Linked DNA regions of Homo sapiens: all the other regions are linked to region 6. Evidence: promoter capture Hi-C in 16 types of primary human blood cells and fetal thymus (Javierre and others, 2016). All regions are on one chromosome and are shown on one strand. Each heading gives the region's core, a stretch centred on a gene start or on the middle of the fragment in contact. The rest is flanking DNA. Distances are from core to core; before and after follow the strand shown.

Region 1 (2,700 bases), core at 119-2,618, 340 kb after region 6:
ACGAGAAACAACACTGCCCCCAAATCCAAAAGTAACTCAGAACCATGGACAACAGGGCTCATATAAGAATGGCAAGGCATACCTGTGTGAATATTTAACTTGCATTTATATATCTAATGTAAGTTAAAATATATTTTTTCAACTTGTATTATTCCTGTGTCAATGTTTGAGTATTCAGTAACTCAAAACAATGGTTATTTAGCTTTTGTTTGCTGAAATGACCGAATCTAAACTTCATCATTTATAAATTTAGTTAAAACTTACAATTGTTCTTTCCTTAAGAAAGGAAGATCACTAGAATTTTTCTTAAGCTTAACTAGAAATTTGAAGCATAGAGACATTTTCCTACAATAAGAAACTGAAAGAGAATTGGAAGAGAACAAGAAAAAGGAGGATTTTATATGCACGTTAGAAACAAAGATTTTTTTAACATTAAATGCATTTGTCTGTGGGAGATGAAAGATAGGAAAAAGCAGGTAGCCTGATGTGTGTATAATATTTCCAAAGGAAAGAGAAAAAATGGTGATCCTGACCTTGGTCAAAGAATACCTCATATCAGCCACCGGCATCTTCCCCAGGACACTTGGGTAAGAATCACAACGATGATCAACAATAAATCATGTTTACTGAGCACACATCATTTGTCAGGAACTTTGGGGAAAACCTCTATGTGAGAGGTTACTTCATGTAGGGAAAAATGTGGACAGTTTCGAACTGGACAAAAAAGATCACTGGCGGTCTTTTCAATGGAATCCTAGAGATGCCTCAGGGGTATGCTCCTCCACTTTGACTAGAGTGTTTTACAACTCTGTAGAGGTGAAAGTTAACTTGTAGCAAACTGGGAGTGATGCAACTTACTCCTGTCTGTAGAAATGCAAATTGTGTCCAGTGGAATGCAACTGACTATCACACTGTAGAAACTGACCAATTTTGCCTCCATTGCATATGTAAGATGTGTAAGTTCATTTCGTCCTCCTTTTTTTTTTTTTTTTTTTCTTTTTCTGGGATGGAATCTCGCTCTGTCACCCAGGCTGGAGTGCAGTGGCGCCATCTCCACTCACTGCAACCTCCGCCTCCTGGGTTCAAGCAATTCTCCTGCCTCAGCTTCCCGAGAAGCTGGGATTACAGGTGCCCACCACCATGCCTGGCTAATTTTTGTATTTTTAGCAGAGACAAGGTTTCACCATGTTGAGCAGTCCTTCTTTATCTGACTATAGATGTGTGGATCTTGAGTTCTCTTTTGAGCCAGTTGTAATATCGAGTGACTTCCTCATTAATCGAGTTAAATAAAATCCTTGGCACATGTTCATTTTATGATTGTGTGAGAGTCATGATTTTACTGTCTTTTAAAATTTAGTCTTTAACACTCTTCTAATCTTCATGATAATACTATGAACAAGAGGAGCAGGTTTGCTGGGAATCTTCTAGCAAAAGGTAGAAGGTAGAAGGGAAGGCCCGGGCAGCCAGCCCACACCTGGCTTCAAAGAAAGGGGCTTTCATATAATTTTATCTGAACTCCCTTTTAATATGTGAATAATTCTTCCCCAGCACCCCTACATTCATAAAGTGTCCAGTGCACAGGAGCTCACTACCTAACAGCAACTTCCACTCCAAAGTTGGAAAGCTGTAGTCTGAGACAGATATTTCTTACATTGAAAGGAATTTTCTTCTCCTGAAATATTAGCCATTCTCCCGGGAAAGCAATCTACTCCCTTTTCTGCAAGAGTATTTTAACTCTTTGAAGGCCAACATCTCATATTCCCCCGGTCTTCTCCAGATAAAACCCGTTAGCTATTCCTTAATTGAGATGGTTTTAAGACCCCCTCATCATCTTGTCTTTTCTTGGTGCTCTTGATTTCATGTCTCCCTAAAATTGAGGCACCAAAAAATTGAACACAATTCTGACCCACCCAGAACATTGATCTCATGGTCTAAGTTCTAGAAATGTGTAGAGTGTTAATAACCCCATGTTTATAATTTGAGGGGTTGTCTATAATTTGCTTAGGCTCCTTTGTATGTATGGAGCTGGCCCCAGCTCTTTCTGCTTTTTTGTGTGTACTATCATACAACTCTTCCTAATGTATGTAAACTATGTCGGTTCTTTTTTAAATATGTATACCTACTTATTTCTAGTTAGATTCATTAAAACCATTATTTCTAAAACAATCAGTTATCCCTTTTATTCTATTTTTATTGAAAAAATCTGCTGTCTTCTGTTTATATTAACAGATTAGTTCTGATGATTAAAAACATAAACTATCTGTTTGATGGAAGGCACCATGGTGGGGTTGTGGAAGCATGTGACAACTCATTTTGACACTGTAAACTAACAATCAATCAATATTTACAGCTACCATTCATACTCCTTCAGGAAATCATGCTGGTGAATTCCACGTTTCTGACAGTTCCCCACCTAGAAAGCTTGCCAGTTGTGGGAAGCCAATGTGGTGATGAAAAGCATCCTACAGTTCCCTAAGCTGCTAACAAAGCTGCAGAAGATTAACCGAAGGAAAGAAATATCCCAATACCCCTGGGCCTGTAATAAACGTGATCCACTACCCCTCCTGCCACTCCCCATCTTCCAGCCCCTGGCTGGCCAGAGCAGTCTGCGGAAGCCTAACCTGTAATCAGGCTGCAATAGGAGTGAGAGAAAGAATCACAAAGCAGAGGAACAGGAATGCTGGATGTCTTCTCTACCAG
Region 2 (2,803 bases), core at 84-2,583, 460 kb after region 6:
TTTCACAGGGCGATGGTTCACATTTTACTGCAGTTTCCTTTGGAAATGCTCAAAGCAACTACATCCGTTTCCTTTCATTGGGACTTTTATGTTTTTCCAGCCAAAAAAGGAGAGGATAAAGTTCATTAAGTCAGAATAGTAATAATGACGAGGTCCACATAAATTTTGTTGTGTTTGGTGCTTTTAAATATTGAAGGATTCACCACCCTCTTCCACTCCCTCTTTCTTAGTTAGGGAGTGAAGATGATGAGAAGACTGCTAAGCCTCAGGGTGACACCTCAGAGGTCCTGCCAGCTGTAAAGAACTCACCACGGACTTTCCAAGAGGATGGTGACATTCCCAGACTACCACTGGGAGCTGCCAAAAACTCAGCTCAAAAACCCCAGCGACTAGGGCGGTCGTTGTGTGTGTGGCTAGCCAAGTCACACAGAGGAGACTTAGATGGCCCCACATTTTATTTTTTGAGGAAGGTAAAAACCTGCCACAGATGAGCAGGACAGGAGATGGGAGTAGAAGGAGGTAGGGTCCAGGACATGAAGATTCACCTAAGTTAAGAAGTTCAGACTTCATCCCAAATACATAGAATCTATTGGAAATCTTGATCAGGAGGTGACTTATATGTGCATTTTGAAAAGATCGCTCCAGCTTTAGTCTGGATAATGGATTGAAAAAAAATAGTAATTTCAAGACAGAAAGACCTAGGAGCAGGTGTGGCGACTGGATGAGAACTGGCAGTGGCCTGGATGTGGGGATCTCAGTGGGGAAGGGATACGGGGACAGACAGGATGCATTTGGGAGAATTCACAGGACTTCATGATTCATTGGATGGTGTCAAAATGCGGGGTAAGAAATCTGGGAAAGTCAAGGGAGACCCTCCAAGTTCTGGATAGGGCCACTGGGTAGAGAATGGTCCCGTTCACCTCAGACAGAAACAGAAAGGAGCATAGGTGTGAGAAGCTGGAGCCCCACTGTGGACCTGCTGAGTCTGAGGCATCCACGCACATCCAGGGGGAGCCGCAGGTGTGCGGCGCTCAGGGAGACAACCGGTAGGACACTTAGACCTGAGTTGTCAGAGGACATAGCGGGGTTCCAAGCCCTGGGAAGAGATCCCACCGATCACGGGGCAGAGAGGCTGAGAAGGGAAGAGAAGCCGGGACCAAAGAAGCTCCGGCAGAGCCGAAGAAGCCTGGCAAAGGTGATGCAGAGGCACCTCCAGTGGGAGGAGAAACCAGAAAAGGATCCACAGCAGCATCAAGGCTGAGAAAATGTTTCCAGAACAAGGTCAGCAGCGTCACGTGCCGCTAGGAGTCATTGGTCCCAGAGCCACAAGGAGGTCCTCAGTGGCCTTGCTGAGAGCTGTGTTGGGGGTAACAGAATCTGTGAATAAGGGAGAGGAGAGGAGGAGGGGACAAAACGCCACGTGGTGGCCATAAAGAGGAGAGGCGATGTGGAAACACAGGTCAGGGGAATTCTCTTTTTGAACCTATGAAAGACACCTGAGAACGTTTGAATGCGGATGGGAAGGAGCGCATAGAAAGGGCGGAGAGACATAGGCGGAGAAGAAGTAGACTCAGAGCAGTCTCTGTGGAGGCGAGAGGGGAGCGGCCGGGATCGCCAGGAACCTGGGATGAGGAAGAGGCTGGGGAGGAAGGAAGGCAGGCTAGACACGTGAATGCTGGCCCTGAAAGTTCCGAGTTCCCCCCAGTAGGTTCTGCTTTCCCTGTGTGTGTGAGAAGGGAGCAGGGAGAACCAAAGATCTGAGAAGAGTCTAGAAATATCTACATCACTTAAAGGAAGGCATACCTTCCAGTGAAGGAGCTGTCCTCCCATCCTCTGGGAAGCCAGGGACTAGGCGGTGAGGAAGGTAAGACACTATCCAGGGGGCAGACGGGCACTCAGGGAGTGCAACTGGGAGGCCGCCCCGGTCTGGGCGCTGGTTAAACTCACGTACAAACTTGATAGATTTCATTATTTGAATCATTTGTTCTGCAGTTCTGTGTATTTGTGGAGCTCCTACCAGGAAGCATGCCTGTTCAGGGCAGCCCTGGACAGACAATGGCTGGTGGGGAAGGCAGCGCCCCCAGGCTGACCCCCACCAACACCACCCCAAACACTCCCCAGCCATCAGCCTCAGCTTACCCTTCAGCACCTCCAGGGTCCATCCTGCAGGAAGGCACTCAGGAGCTCTTGCTTTTTTAAAGTGCTTATTGGGGCTTTGGACATATATTTCTCCCAACCCATGAGCCTGATGGTATTCCGTATTTGAAGAAACTGAGTGACAACAGGCTGATTGGCTACATGACTTCCTAGGATCTCAGGATGTTTGAGGGATGCACAGCCTACAAACTGAGAAGACATAAAATGAGGCTGGTCTGACCGTGCCCTTCTCACCCACCTTCCCTGGAGATGAATGAGCACTTCAGGAAGGCCCGCGTGCCGCCTCCGAGGAAGAATGAATAAACTTCTGTTCAGATAGGCCGAGTGCCCCTGCAGGGCAGCCCCTCCACGGTGGCAAGGACTCCTCCACGCATTACCCTAGAACCAATTCCATTTTGAAGAAAAAGAGACCACCTGAGGTGAAATTAAACAGCTGACTGAAAGGAGTCCTGAAATGGACAATATAAAAGGAAACACAACCACCCCAGACAGGGAGGAGCAGCTGCAGGAACTTAGGGGGCCAGACACAGTTGACTTATTGGCAGCTTGGCTCAAAACGTCACCATGAAAAGATCTATAATGGCCAATGTCTCATCTCATGCTTGCGTCTGTAAGCAAATTACATAACCTCCCTGTGCCTCAGTTT
Region 3 (2,951 bases), core at 336-2,835, 500 kb after region 6:
CAAGCAAGAGGTTTTATAAAAGATACCACAGCGCCCAATAACACAATATATGTGTGATCTGACAAATTCAAAACACAGTTGAAATGAAAAGGCAACCAAAATACTTCAGAGTACTTCATTCTTCTATAAAATGTGTACACAGACCTGGGCCTAAAATACTTCACTGCACCACATCCAGTTCTAAAATCCAATTTCCTTTTCAGGTAGAGCGCATCTTTTAAAAAAAGAGCCAACACACCTATGTTTAAGAATAAAAATTCACTTGTACTAGATTGTATGTAGCTAAACACTGGATCTATTTTCTGATTCCAAAATTTTCTATCCTAGTATGAATAAATGAAGAATAGGACAAACCTAAGTGCAGGAAAGTATCAAACCCTGTAACGCATACTTATACTGAAAATGTGTTTCACATGGTTAACATTTGCAAAGGCTAAAATCATTTTTCATAAAGAAAATTCCACAGGCTTGCTCAGTATTACCAAACTTCCATAATGAACATTATTTTGAGTGCCAAATTGAGCACGAAAAAAACACCTACTTTTAACTATTATGAAATATTATGAAAAGTAGTAAGACTTATTTATTAGGCTGGTTAAAAAGTAATTTAAAACCAAAGAGAGTTAAATCTTCCTTGAGAACATACTCTCAGAACTTAAGAATGGGGTAAATCAGATGGAGCACAGCCATGCTGTACACATCAACTCACTGAAATCACATAACTTCTATTCTCATGGACCTTATTTTCTATTATCTTGAAAACAAACTGATTATAATCTCCCAAAATACCAGTGGTACCTTAAAATTTAATCAACTCCTTTCCTTAACAGAATTAGGACTTTCAATTAAAAATACTGTAATATCCAAGAGGGTTTCAATGCAAGAGAAACCTTTGCATCATAATTTCAAGTGACCATATATAGTGGAGTTCCCTCTAATAACACGACAGACACAAACAAGCTATCGAGCAAGAATCTGTTAACAGTTTTATTTTTTTTTATGTTAAATACCATGGGACAGGATTGTAAGGATGAAAAACTCAGTCAACAACTGCCTCACAAGGGATAAGAAAAATTCTGCCATGATATTAGCAAAGGTAAAGGAGGAAAAATTTACACTGTAAGAGGCACCATTTCCCCAAGGAATACCTCTTGGCATTTCCTGAATGAGTGGGATTAGCAATCTAAATAAATCATATTTCAAGAGGTAACAGCAACAGATAAAATTTAAAGGGATTATTAAAATAACATTTACAAGACTCTGAACAATTCTTGAACTCTTATTAAAACCACAAAGAAAGAACAATTCTTTATTTATGAATTTCATAAAGGACTCAATGTGCAACTGACATCTGCTAGTGATGATCTGGTAATATACAACCTGTCCAGTAGCCGAACAGTTTGTTTTTATTGTGTTTTCTAACCGTAAGAGATCATTAAAGGCAAAGCCTATATGACGCTGTACACACAAAAAAATGGTCACCGTGGGCCATACTACCAATGAAATGGTAGGTAAACAAATCTTTTTCTGGTCAAGAGAAAAAAAAAAAAAGAAACAGCACTCTGCATGCTTCACTCTACAAGATGAATTTCCCTAGAAAGAATCCAATGAAAATGGCTGCAATTACAACAAGAAGTGAAGGAAGAGGACTGGTGACATTATCTCTGAAGGATGCAGTTGAGGTTGATCCAGGTTTATCCGAATGTGCTACCTTTCTGAGCCTTAAACCTTCATCCTAGAAAAAAAACACACACACAAAAGGTTTTTAAAAACAAGCATACTAACGAGACTACTGGAGCTAAAAATCTATAGGGACGGAAAGTAGATTAGTGGTTGCCTATGGCTGGGGACGGAAAAGGGGATTAACTGCTAACCACATAAGGAAACTTTCCGGGGGTGATAGACATTCTAAAACTGAACTATAGTGATGGTTACAAAGTTCTATGTATCAATGAATTGTACACTCACAGTGGGTGTCTCCATGGGATATAAATTATACCTCAATAACACTGATTTTTTAAAACTGGAGCTGAGAAATGTATTCCTAAAAAGCAAAAGTTAGATAGGCTATATTTACCTTTTTTTAAATCCCACTAAAAATATAATTAAAGAAGAGTACTTCCAAGGTGGCCCATGGTATTTAAAATCAGTTACATCCGTCCTAGCCCAATCAGCCAAAAACTACCCAGACCTGTAGTCTGCCATTTGGGTTTACTGACACACTGCAACTAAGGAACCGGAACAGCAGAGGCACAAAAGGGTGTTCTTGCCGTAAACAGAGATATGGTATCACAGAATTTGGGGGAAGGAAACAGTTTAGCGTGAAATTTAAGTAACAGTGTTTTTATATGCTCAAAGCAAAGCAGAGGGCTGTGTGTAAAGTGGTAGCACCAGGTCTCGACTGCAAAGCAGAGAAAGAATACTGTTTCTTCAGAAACTACAAATTTAGATGAGAAATGTACATAGGAAACCCTTATCTGAAGCTCTGCACCTGGACTGGAAAATGAGGGTGCTTCTCTGTGTCAAAATGACTTAGATCCTCCAGTCAAGAGTAGGCTGCTTCATTCTTGCTGATATGGCTTCACACAGCACTATGTCTTTAGAGCAGAAGGTTTCTCAGAAGAAAGCAGAAGTCACTCCAAGCAGGAGGTTGTTATGACACTGTGTGCAATGTGAACCTTGGGAAAAATACTAATACCTGTTAACTACACAGTTGTCTTTATCTCTGTCTGTTAACCAATCTGATAAATGGCAGGACAGTTTTTTACTTTTTTCAGTACAAGGCAATATTTTCTCCCATGATTCCTTTATTGTGCTTATAAATAAACACTAACTAAAAGAGTACACCTAATGGCACAGTTTTATTTGCATTACTGGATTTTCTGGAGTTGGGTTTTTTTGGTCTCATGCTAATTAGTCCTATATAAACAGTAATTCTCAGTTTCAGCTAC
Region 4 (2,723 bases), core at 183-2,682, 290 kb after region 6:
TACTTTTCTAAAAAATATAAAGTTATACATAAATTTAAGTTAAAACATCAATGTAAAGTTTATTCAAGAAGATACAGAAAACCCAAGAGAACACATAACTATTACAAAAACTGTTCTAGAAAAAAAAAAATATTGCCCCCAAAAGACACCAGACCCTCAGTGACTTTACAGGGAAGTACAATGCAAAAAATTACAGTCCAATTTCATTTATGAAACTATGCAGAAGACTCAAAATACTGGCAAATTGAGTTCAGCAGTAGGAGAAACCTGAATAGGTTGTTAAAATGTTGCAGTTGATGCAGAAATACAAGAATGGCTTGAATCAGTCTTTTAAAAAGGATAAAAGTAGTTGCCTACTCCAGGTCACTGTTGTAGGGAAAGAGGAACAGGCCTTACACAGCATATAAAGGAAAAGTTTAGAAAAACTTGCCTATAGGGAATATGAAGGTCAGAAGATGATATAATTGCTAGAGGGAAAACCATGAAACGATGAAGGGACTAAGAGAATGTTGCAATTTTAAAATAGTGTTTATTTTAGAGACAGCGTCTCACTCTTTCACTCAGGCTGGAGTGCAGTGTTAACCATGATAGCTTACTGCAACCTTGCACTACTGGGCTCAAGTGATCCTCCGGACTCAGTCTCCAGAGTATCTAGAACAACAGGTACCCTTCCCCATGCTCAACTAATTTTTTTATTTTTATTTTTTAGAAACAGAGTCTCACTGTCTTGTCCAGGCCGGTCTCAAATTCCTGGCCTCAAGCAGTCTTCCTGCCTCAGCCTTCCAAAGCACTGGGATTACAGGTGTGAGCCATCACACTTGGCCTAAAATAGTATATTTTTTAGTTATCTTTTTAACCTAATGGTAATCCTACAGAGGGTTCATTTGTAAGTTTCTTTTCATTCAGTTTTTCAGGTATGGGAGAGGTCTATGTTAAACATGTTCTAATTAGTTAGAATATAATTAAAGCTTATAATTTAATCAAAAGACCTAGTTGTTTTTTGAAATATATGTAGTTTGCAAGTGCTGTTGTTTCTGTTACCTACATAGTATGGGGCTGTAAAATGCCATATGGCATACAAAGCTAGTGGAAACAGATAGGAAGGTTCAATCTGGGCCCAGAGAAGACCCATAAGTTGAGGCAAACAGCATCACGGCTGCAACGCACACACCAGAGGGAATGGGGAGTTTGCACCATAAGTCCCTCCCCTAGTGAGGCTTGGACAGAAACCAGGCCTTGGCAGACCCAGCTTCAGACCCAGCCTCCCTGATCTGGATGGCCTGGACTTCTTTCCAGGGTAGTCCTGATGAACATCTGGCACCTATGTCCCAGTTTGCTGAGGAGTTTTCACTGCCCGAAGGAGGAGGCAGCACCTCCTTGGAGGGTTTCCTACAGAAAAATGTGGAGATGGCACTCCACCCGCTGCCCTGAGCACGTGGGTGAAGCTATTCGGACCAGGAATGCATTTAACAGGAAGCCTGGGACAGTCACAACCTGAGTGCCGAGAAATGCGGCCAAGAGCATCCATCCGCCTCCATCAGTGGACAGTCCGGCGGCGTGTGAAGGAAAGCTGCTTTCTGGGGCCTCCAGAGGGTGAAGCGTTGACATCATCTACGCTGGTGACGTTAACCAACTTAATTGATCACAGGGCATCCATGTCCCATGTCTCCAGCCTTAGTGTCCTCAGCAGCTTGTGCAAAGTCTTCTCAGAGGCTTTGAGGAAAAATATATCAATAGATAATTTAATAAGTAAAAGTGTAACAAAATATAGTGTTTAAAAATCACAAGTGTTGTGTGATTTATAGGATTCAAAATTGAATTAAGGCCCTGTGAGTTTTCCAGTAGCCCTCTCCTCCCTTGCTGCACCGACCATTCCAGACCTTTGTAGGAAGCTTCTAGGCATTTCCCCCAGGGGACTCCCCCCTCCCCAAGGACCTCAGAACCGCACCAGGATGAGGGTCACCGCAAGCTCCAGACTAGCAACGATGGGTGGCCACTGGGGTTGTTGCTGGGGTAGACCCACTGGGGGGTGAGCTACCCACTACTCTGGGCACTGGGAAGAAAAGAGAACAGAACCAAGTGATTTGAAAATCTCTATCAGTTCACATGGGAAAGCAGCTGGCAGAAAGAGGGGAGCACAGGCCCAAGGCTCCCCAGAAGCATTTCTCAGGGACTCACTCCTCAGTCAGCTGATCACTGCCATGCAGGCTTTTGGTGTTCTAGACAGGACCCCAGCAGGTCGGCAGCAGGCTAGCCCCGTGATCATTTTATAACTGTACTTTTCACCTCTGTTTTATCAGTTTATAAACCCTTTCAAAGTGAGTTTTCAGCTCTCTGACCCAGGAGTAATGGTCTGTGGTAGACCATTTGTATGGGGGGAGTTTAATTTTCATTTGTATTTCCTCTTAAAAGTTTCCTTTTTCAAGTTTAGGTATGTAAACTAAAAATAAATTCCTAAGCTCCCCCATCACCTGAATGGACCCCTCTTTGCCTGGGGACCCTGGAAAAACCTTAAAACTAAGTTCCCGGCCATGACAGGACGGGAGGTCAGACGCGTCTCATTATACCCTTCCCTCTAGTGGTTTAGACACAACAACTGACCAGCATGAATGTTAAAGTCAAGATCATAAGACAGACACAAGGGACCCTTTGTGGCAATGAGATACCACATTCCAAAGAGGACCGAAGGCCGTGCCAGGCAAGGGTGGAGTCACACAACCCTA
Region 5 (2,882 bases), core at 305-2,804, 370 kb after region 6:
CTTGGGTAGTCTTAAAGCCACGCCTTCCAAACAAGAACCTGTTCGCTCATATTGTTCAAGTCTGAGCGACCTAGACCAGGAGACTGTAAGCAAGGCCAAATACCAGGCTCCGCTCCATCTAAATTCAACATGTACCAGCCCACGTGGCAAGAAAGAGAGAAATAACAGTGCCTACTATGTGGGGGTTGCAGTGAGAATCCAATGAGAAGCATTTACCAACATGCTGAGCATGTAGTAAGTCCTCAATGACTGTGAGATAATCCATATCTGACCATTCTATTCCTGTGCCTTATCAACCTGTTCCTAGTGGCCACTAGTCCTAGAACCAAATTCTCCTTTAAGAAGCATCCTTAGATGAAGTGGCCCTTGGCAGGATTTTGTCCAGCTCCCATGCAAAAAGCCAAAATCAGAACTTTCTTCCCCTCTCCTCATTCCCTATGGGCTCTGGGAGAGATTTAGTTTCACAGGAAAGGGGCAAAACAACGTTCACAGGCCCCCAGGTACCTCTCCTACCCAGCCCTTCCCAGATATTCTGTTCTGTATTTAGGAGTGAGTATAATGAGCTGGGCTAAAGGAGTGTCATGTTTTGGTCTGCTTGTTTTTTTTTTTTTTTTTTTACTTTGGTCGTTTTTTGTTTTGGAGAAAAAGAAAAGAATTTCATGGTGTACTAATTTTCTTTCCGGAGTTAAAAACATTCAAGAAGAGACACCTCATGAAAGAAGAGATGCAGATGGCAAATAAGCACATCCTCCACATCACATGTCATCAGGAAATGCAAATTAACACAGCAGTGAGATCCCACTGCACACCTATTAGAATGGTCAACGTCTAGAACACGACAACACCAAATGCTGACAAGGATGTGGAGCAACAAGAACTGTCTTCCATTGCTGGTGGGAATGCAAAAGGGTATAGCCACTTTGGAAGACAGCTTGGTGCTTTCTTATGAAACTAAACAGTCTTACCATACGATCCAGCAATGTGCACCTTGGTATTTACCCAAAACAGTTGAAAACATATGTTCACACAGAAACTTGTACGCAGATGTTTAGAGCAGCTTTATTCATTATTGCCACAACTTGGAAGCAAACAAGATGTCCTTCAGTAGGTGAATGGATAAATAAACTGTAGTACAGCCAGATAATGGAATATTATTCAGCACTAGAAAGAAATGCCCTATCAAGCCATGAAAAGATGTGGAGGAAACTTAAATGCATATTGGTAAGTGAAATAAGCCAATCTGAAAAGGTTACATGCTATATGATTCCAATGATATGACATTCTGAAAAAGGCAAATCTATGGATACAGTAAAAAGGTTAGTGGCTGCCATGGGTTGACCCCTTACACTGAGCTTGTGAACCAATTTTTAAAATGGTGCTAACAAATGTGAACCTGAAAGAGCCAGTCCTTGAAGGTGGATCCAAAGTGGCTGACTGGGCCTAAATATAAAATAGAGACATGCAGCTATTTGCTGATGAGGAGTCACACACATACTCTGGAGGTCCCCAAAACCAACACCTCTGTTCAACTTTGGGACACCAGAGCTCACCTGAACCAACCAATCATTGGCCAAGAGCTCAGCTGCCTTGGCCAATCAGGGCTCAGCTGTATCAACCAATCAGGGCTCAGTTGTATTAACCAATCAGGGCTCAGCTACACTGAGGATACTAAGCAAAATATTGGGGTCTTTAGAGTCCTGCCTCAGAGTTTACCAGGACTGTGACATCCCTGAAGAACTCTCCATTCGGATAGCTCTGAACTGAAAGGGAAAATGTGCTTCCTCTGCAGCCATGTCCCATTCCGAGGGCATCAGTCCACCTGCCTGACCCCCAGCCAGAGTTAGGAGAGGGTCCCACCCCCGTTGGGAGGAGCAGCTGTAGCCATGCCTGGGCTCAGGATGTCCTGAGAGGGTGGGTGCTGGAGTACACACACAGCATAGGTCTGTGCCAGCAGCCTCCCTCACCTGATGACCTCACCCCTCCAGGGAGCACCCACAGGGCCCCATCCCCTAATCCTGAAACCAGCCCAGTTGTTCCATAGAACTGATGTTTATGGTTTCTTTTGAATAAGCATAGAAATTGGTCCTTCTAGTTTTAAAACTAGAAAGTTACATTTGTCTTATCTGAGTTCCTTTCTCAGGAAAGCAACCATCAGCGCTCACAGATAGTTTCAAGGAACTGAAACTTTCCAGATCACAGCATCAGGACAATGAGACACCAGACCCCTCACCCATCATGATTGCATAACCCACCACCTGCTGCCTGTTGACTAACTCCTCTTCCTTACCCCTCCCTAATTCCTGTTTTCCCATAAGTAGTTACGTTTCTTCCCCGCTATGTAAACTCTTAATTTTAGTCAGTTTAGGAGATGGATTTGAGACTGATCTCCCATCTCCTTGACTGTACCATCTGAATAAAGCTGCCTTCCCCGGCAATACTTGTCTCAGTGATTGGCTTTCTGTGTGGCAAGCAACAGGACCTAGACCAAACCCCTGGTGTTTCAGTAACAATCCCACTCTCCCACAGCCTTTGGAGCCATCACCCTAACCTGTGCTCTCTCTGCTCTCTGTCTGTCTCCCCTGCTCTCAGCATTTTGCAAACCAGCTCATCAGTGAGTTGAAAATCAAACCACTCTCAAAACAGCTCAAGAAAGCAATCACTTTGTCTTCTACTATTCGGTGGTGGTGCATGCATGCTTCTGTCTCCTTCCCAGCCAGCCCATGCCTGGATGAAACTGTGACCATGGTGACAGCTAGACATCACTGTGCCTACTCTGAAAGACAAGGCTCCCGCCACAGACAGAGGACATTTAAAAATAAGAATGATTTTTACTAGACCTGTCTGAAAATACAGTCACCAAAAAAATTCCATGCTCTGGGGTG
Region 6 (2,700 bases), core at 183-2,682:
GTCCTCAGCCTGACTTTCAGTCCTGGCTACCATGCATTCTGAAGCCGGAGCCCGCTACAGGTTTGGGGTGGCTGTGGTGGGTGTTGAGGAAGGAGAGCCGTGAAGTCATGCTGTTGAAACGTCAGGTGTCTGACCATTAGGGACAGTTTGCTCAGGACATCCACATCAACACGACGTGATCTGCCACGGCTTGTCAGGATTATGAACCCGACGCGCCATAAAACCTGCCTTGTCCACCCCAAAGAAATTCTGTCTTGGTGTTTTCAGCGCAATTTCTGGAACCCGCTGAAAGGGCTGATGTTCTCTAGCTAAAGGTTTACTAGAACCCCTGGGGAAAAGTGGCACTGGAAGCCCAGGAAATGGGACGTCAAGTTGGGGTGCACATTGGGAGACTGGTAATAATGATTAAATCTTGGCTAATAGGGGTCCCCTGTTTCTTAAAATTACACCCAGAGAACGCAACAGTCCACTTGGGAGAAAACCCCACAACCCCGCCTCAATCGCGAGGCAAAGTGCAGGCAGACAACAAACACTAGTTTTCAGAAGGCAGACAGACGTGTCTTTCCCAAATGATCAGTTTCTCTTTCCACTCTCCTAAACGCTTGGAACACATCAAGAGCCTGCTGCATTCTGGCATTTTGGAAAAAGGCTCGCAGAGCCGGCGATTTCATGGCAGTGTACAGTTGGAAAATCCAGCAGAGCGGACGAAAGTTTCCCTCGGACTGGATGCAACGGATTCTGGACATAAAAGGTGTCTGCGTGGGAGAGCTTCCACCCTTCCAAAAAGAACAGTCCCGCAGCAAAGAGCTCCGGGCGCCCTGGGGGAGAGCGGTCCCAAGCCTCGGAAAGTGGGCAGAGCCCCCTCTCCCAGGGCTGAGACGGCAGGCGCGGGGCTCCCCTCGGACCCGCCCCGCCAAGGGGACAGTGTAGGCCGTGCCGCGATCCAGACCCGACGCCTCCGCGGGCTCCGCGGCGCCCGGGCTGCCTCCGCCGGCTGGGAGCGCTCGAGTGGCCCTCGGGAACTCACCGTGAAGCAGGAGGGCCGGGAACAGGTATCTGAGCAGGAGGCGGCGCGGCCAGGACATTTCCAGTCCTGCTCTGGGGCCTCCCGCACGCCGCGCTCCGATTTGGTGCCCGGGCAACTGGGCGCGCGCTCTGCCCTCCGCCTCCGGCCGGGTGCGGCCGGGCCAGGCCGGGGCTTCAGGCGGCTGCCGCGCGCCCCATGCCCGGCGGGCTAGGCGCGGGGCTGCGGGGCGCGCGCTCTCTGGGCGCCGTCGGGCGGCTGTGGGCGCCCCGGCCCGGTCCGCGTCCCGGCCTCTCTGCCGCCCGCCCCGACTTCTCCGCGCCCGGCCCCGCGTCCCGCCCCGGCCGCCGCGTGCGCCGCTCTGAGCTGCAGTGGCCGCCACCGCCACCGCAGCTGCAGCGTCTCTTCATATTTCCAGCGCGCCGCCGGCCGGGCAGCCTGGCCGCGGCACGGAGGAGGGGCCCTGGAGGGGGCGGTCGGGGGAGGCGACGCCGAGCCACCGCCCCCGGGCAGCCGCCGCCGGGGGGGAGCGCGGAGACTTGAAAGGGCGCGTCGGGCAACGCCTCCCCTCCTCCCACTCCGGGCGCCCCTCCTCCCCCCGCTCCCCTCCCGCTTCCCTCCTTCCCCTCTCTCGCCTACCCCTCCTCTTCCAGCTTCCTACCCCTTCCATCCTCCCCTCCTCCTCTCCTCCCTCCAGGCCCCTCTGCCTCCCTCTGGCTCTGCGCACCCCTTTCTCTCCTCCCCGTCCCCCATTCCGGGCGCGCTTCCTCCTTGGAGGGGGTGGGAGCCTTTGGCCCCGCACCCCGCCCGCAAGGAAAGAGAATGCGCGGGTCACCCTTCCGCCTCCGCCCACTCCCCTGGGGAAAGGTGTTCAAAGGGGGTGCGGGCGGCGAGGCTGGAGGCCTGGCGTGGGATCCAAGCAAAGCGGCCTGCTGAGCCGGGGTGTGTGCCAGCGCGCAGCCATGGGAGAGAGGGGAGACCAAAGAGAGAGTCCTGGAGGGTTGCTGGGGGTGAGGATGCGTCAGTGCTGGGCCCCCTCGTGGGTGCGGTGCAGGTCTTCACTACAAATCGCCTACCCCGGCCCAGTGCCTGGCTCCTCTGGGGAGCACGGAGAACCTTGTCATAGGCCCCAACCTGGGAAGGGCACGGTGTAGGAGGCAGGAGCCCGTTCACTTTTTCCTCCCCCTTCCACTAGGCAAATGACTTGTTGAAACGGGAGAAATCTCCGAGAAACGCTCCCTGTCAGTCTAAGAACGTGCACTTAGGCCCCTTCGCCGAGTCCTCTTCTCTTCCAGAGCAAATTGAATCACCACAATCAAAGCTGATTTTATTTGTGTTCGCGGTCTTGTGGGGGAGGGGGGACTACATGGGCGTTTGAGACCCAAAGGCAGGAAGAGTTTCCCCTGGGGTCCTTCGTTCTCCAATGCGGGTACAAGGCAGTGGCCATCTGATTTACCTGGAAGGTCCCTCCTCTGCCAAGGGCCTGCTTGAGCCCTTCCCCTCTTCCAGCAGTTTTCCCCCTCCTAAGGTTAATGTCACCTCTTCTCCACACTAGGATAAAGAGCAGACAGGAGACCCAGTGGAGTCTAGAGAACATTTCTTGACGCAACCGTTAGTGTTTTTCATTTAAAAAAAAGATTAAAATAAATGCCTGATTTCCCAAGAGAATTCTCTGC
Region 7 (2,700 bases), core at 161-2,660, 310 kb after region 6:
TTAGGCAACCTCAGTTTCTCTTTTATAATCCCTGCAAAGTTAATATAGACTTTCAGGCTAGATTCTACCCAGCTCCAACATTCAACACATCACTCACCTGGTGTGAAAGGAGCCCAGGTCAATATCTAGCTAATGTGTGCCCTGCTGAATCGGCCCGATGACTAACTCTTTTATGTGCTTGCTTCTTGTGAGCTGAAAACTAAACAGAAACTATTTACAAAGCCCAGGGGCCTGAATGGGTGGCTCTCTCAGCAGGGGGTGGGGCCCCACCAAGCTTGGGATGAGGTTGTCAGCTGGGGCCAATTTAGATTTCCCTGACCGCCACTGTCAGCCTTCTCCAGCTTTTGCACAAATTCTATATTCCACTGACTATAGCCTCCCAGCCTCAAATCACTTTGGGAAGCTCTACAAAGACTCATCTCTGACCTGGGTCTTTGTTGTTATTTCCTGCATGAAAATGGGGGTAGGAGAAAAAAAGAGAGACTTTTTTTTCACTGTGTCAGAGTTTGTAAAGTGACACTTGAGTAAGTCTGTGGGGTTAGAGTTATTCAGAGCAAAGGCATACTGTGAAGGAAGCACTTTACAACAGATTGGGTAACAAATCCCGGCCCTGTGTCTGCAGGGCTGATTTTTCGCCTGAAACTAAGAGCTGCAGCTCAGCTTCCTCCTGGGCACCACTTCAGTTCAACAAGCCCAAAGCCACCCTGACCAACTGCCGTCCTAGGGCCCCTCTCACTCCTACATGAGTCTGCCATTGGCCCAGTGCTTCAAACCCACAGTCTGCCTCCCCTCCCATCAGTCACCAAATCTCACCAAGTCGACTTCCTTTCTGCTGCTCACCCCTTTCCACTCTCCCACCACTCTGCTGCTGCCAGTGTGGATGGGCCCGTATCCTCTCCACCTGCACTAGAGTAACATTCCCCTCGCAGGGGCCCCTGCTTCCAGTTCATCCCTCCAATCCTTGCTCCACACTGCAGTCAAGGGTGAGCTTTCTGAAGCAAAAACTCTTCTCAAGTCATTCCCTCCTTGCAGGGCTGCCAGGCCTGCAGGGAACACTGTCCAGTTTTCTAGGAGTGCAACTGAGTCAGGGGCGGGGATTCTGGAGGAGGCTGAGATTTGAGAAGGATGAGTCAGCTCCAGACAAGTTGAGTTTGAAGTGGCTTGAATCATCCTGGAAAAAATGTCATATGGGAAGCAGATAGTCTGTCTAAAGCTCGAAAGAAATGCAGCGGCTGGAGATGGGCCCTGGAAAAACGGGCTTTATCTCTGGCCCTGTCCTCCACAGATCCCGCTGTCCTGCACCATGTTTCAGACACACTGGCCTCCTTGCAGTTCCACATGCCCTTCATGCCCTCATCTCCTGGAGCTTTACAGATGGAGACCCACATATGGAAACACTCTCTCCAGCCTTCTCACACGCTTTGCCTGCTGATCCTCTACTTGTCCTTCAGGACTTGGTTTCAACAGCAACCCCAACAGGATGTGCTCCCAAAGCACATGCACTTGCCACCAGGGCCACATTGATCGTTCATGCTGAGATCAACTATTTCCTGTCTTCTCCCACCACTAGACTCCAAGATCTGGGGTATGCGCTCAGTAAATATCTGTTAAGCAAAAGAATGATTAATTGTTTAATTATTTATCTACAGTATCAAGAAGTTCTATAAGCCCCAGGAAAGATAAATATAAAGAAATGCACACCTAGACATATCATCATAAAACTGCAAAAAAAAAAAAAAAGACAAAAAGAAAATCTTAAAAGCAGCCAGAGAAAAAAAATTCAAGTACCTTCAAGTGAGCAATAGATTGACAGCTAATGTTCCACACAAAAAAACCCCAAAAACCAAAAAAAAAAAAAAAAAAAAAAACAGAAGGCAGCAAACAATGCAATGGTATGTATCTACAAAGGACAGAAGAAAATCAGCTGCCAACCTAGTAACACACTGTGCATGGGGAAAACATGCTTCAAGAATGAAAGTTAAAGAAAGAGGCCGGGTGCGGTGGTTCACACCTGTAATTCCAACACTTTGGGAGGCCAAGGTAGGTGGATCACCTAAGGTCAGGAGTTCAAGACCAGCCTGGGCAACATGGTAAAACGCTGTCTCTACTAAAAATACAAAAATTAGCCAGGCCTGGTGGCTTGCAACTGTCATCCCAGCTACTTGGGAGGCTGAGGCAGCCTCCCGAGGCAGGAGAATCACTTGAACCTGGGAGGTGGAGGTTGCAATGAGCTGAGATGACACCACCTCACTCCCACCTGGGCAACCATAGCGAGACTCTGTCTCAAAAAATAAATACATAGAAAGTTAAAGAAAGACATTTCTGTATCAATGGAAGCTAACATATGCAAGTTGCAAGCTGACTCATACTAAGTGAAATCCTAACAGGCTTTCTTAGATGAAATGCCAGAGATCGTGAATGGTAAATATATGGGCGCATAAAGTGAATGTTGGATGTATAAAATAGCACTTGTTTATATCTGAACAGAAAAGAAGAGAAGCAGTTCTCTTTAGTCAGAAGAGATAGGCATTAGTTATGAAGCTTGGACAAGAAAGGAGAAAAGAAAAACACATTTATTGAGTCATTACTATTTTCCAGATTTTTCTACCATATGACTACTATTTCTAAGGGACGGGACTTCAGTTTCCAAGAGTTTTTAATACACTGTAACCTTACAAGACAAATTCCTACAAAATCCCA

What was found. The method cuts DNA at HindIII sites, captures the fragments that hold promoters and counts their contacts. A CHiCAGO score of 5 or more calls a contact.
Region 1: a fragment that was not itself captured here is called in contact with the fragment with the promoter of APCDD1 in region 6 in 3 of 17 cell types (M2 macrophages, M0 macrophages and monocytes); the score reaches 7.3 in M2 macrophages.
Region 2: a fragment that was not itself captured here is called in contact with the fragment with the promoter of APCDD1 in region 6 in 9 of 17 cell types (M2 macrophages, naive B cells, monocytes and 6 more); the score reaches 10.8 in M2 macrophages.
Region 3: a fragment that was not itself captured here is called in contact with the fragment with the promoter of APCDD1 in region 6 in 1 of 17 cell types (monocytes); the score reaches 5.7 in monocytes.
Region 4: a fragment that was not itself captured here is called in contact with the fragment with the promoter of APCDD1 in region 6 in 2 of 17 cell types (M1 macrophages and monocytes); the score reaches 6.2 in M1 macrophages.
Region 5: a contact is called between a fragment that was not itself captured here and the fragment with the promoter of APCDD1 in region 6, in 1 of 17 cell types (M2 macrophages). The highest score is 6.0, in M2 macrophages.
Region 7: a contact is called between a fragment that was not itself captured here and the fragment with the promoter of APCDD1 in region 6, in 4 of 17 cell types (M2 macrophages, monocytes, M0 macrophages and 1 more). The highest score is 5.8, in M2 macrophages.

Annotation. Positions count from the first base shown.
Region 1 is chr18:10,114,889-10,117,588 of GRCh38, reverse strand. No RefSeq gene overlaps it. Among named protein-coding and RNA genes, the nearest start is that of VAPA, 200 kb to the right of the region's middle. The HindIII fragment of the contact is 2,110 bases long and covers 314-2,423 here.
Region 2 is chr18:9,990,052-9,992,854 of GRCh38, reverse strand. No RefSeq gene overlaps it. Among named protein-coding and RNA genes, the nearest start is that of VAPA, 77 kb to the right of the region's middle. The HindIII fragment of the contact is 3,525 bases long and covers 1-2,803 here.
Region 3 is chr18:9,952,837-9,955,787 of GRCh38, reverse strand. VAPA (VAMP associated protein A) reads right to left here. Exons shown (of 6, transcript NM_194434.3): 6 at 1-1,735. The coding sequence ends at 1,577. Among named protein-coding and RNA genes, the nearest start is that of VAPA, 40 kb to the right of the region's middle. The HindIII fragment of the contact is 9,151 bases long and covers 1-2,951 here.
Region 4 is chr18:10,160,378-10,163,100 of GRCh38, reverse strand. LOC124904247 (a long non-coding RNA gene) reads right to left here. Exons shown (of 2, transcript XR_007066286.1): 2 at 34-1,713. Among named protein-coding and RNA genes, the nearest start is that of VAPA, 250 kb to the right of the region's middle. The HindIII fragment of the contact is 924 bases long and covers 971-1,894 here.
Region 5 is chr18:10,082,386-10,085,267 of GRCh38, reverse strand. No RefSeq gene overlaps it. Among named protein-coding and RNA genes, the nearest start is that of VAPA, 170 kb to the right of the region's middle. The HindIII fragment of the contact is 3,764 bases long and covers 1-2,882 here.
Region 6 is chr18:10,453,367-10,456,066 of GRCh38, reverse strand. It overlaps APCDD1 (APC down-regulated 1), which reads right to left and starts at 1,432. Exons shown (of 5, transcript NM_153000.5): 1 at 1,028-1,432. The coding sequence starts at 1,085. The HindIII fragment of the contact is 7,093 bases long and covers 1-2,700 here.
Region 7 is chr18:10,138,644-10,141,343 of GRCh38, reverse strand. No RefSeq gene overlaps it. Among named protein-coding and RNA genes, the nearest start is that of VAPA, 230 kb to the right of the region's middle. RefSeq lists an enhancer at 361-860. The HindIII fragment of the contact is 2,267 bases long and covers 277-2,543 here.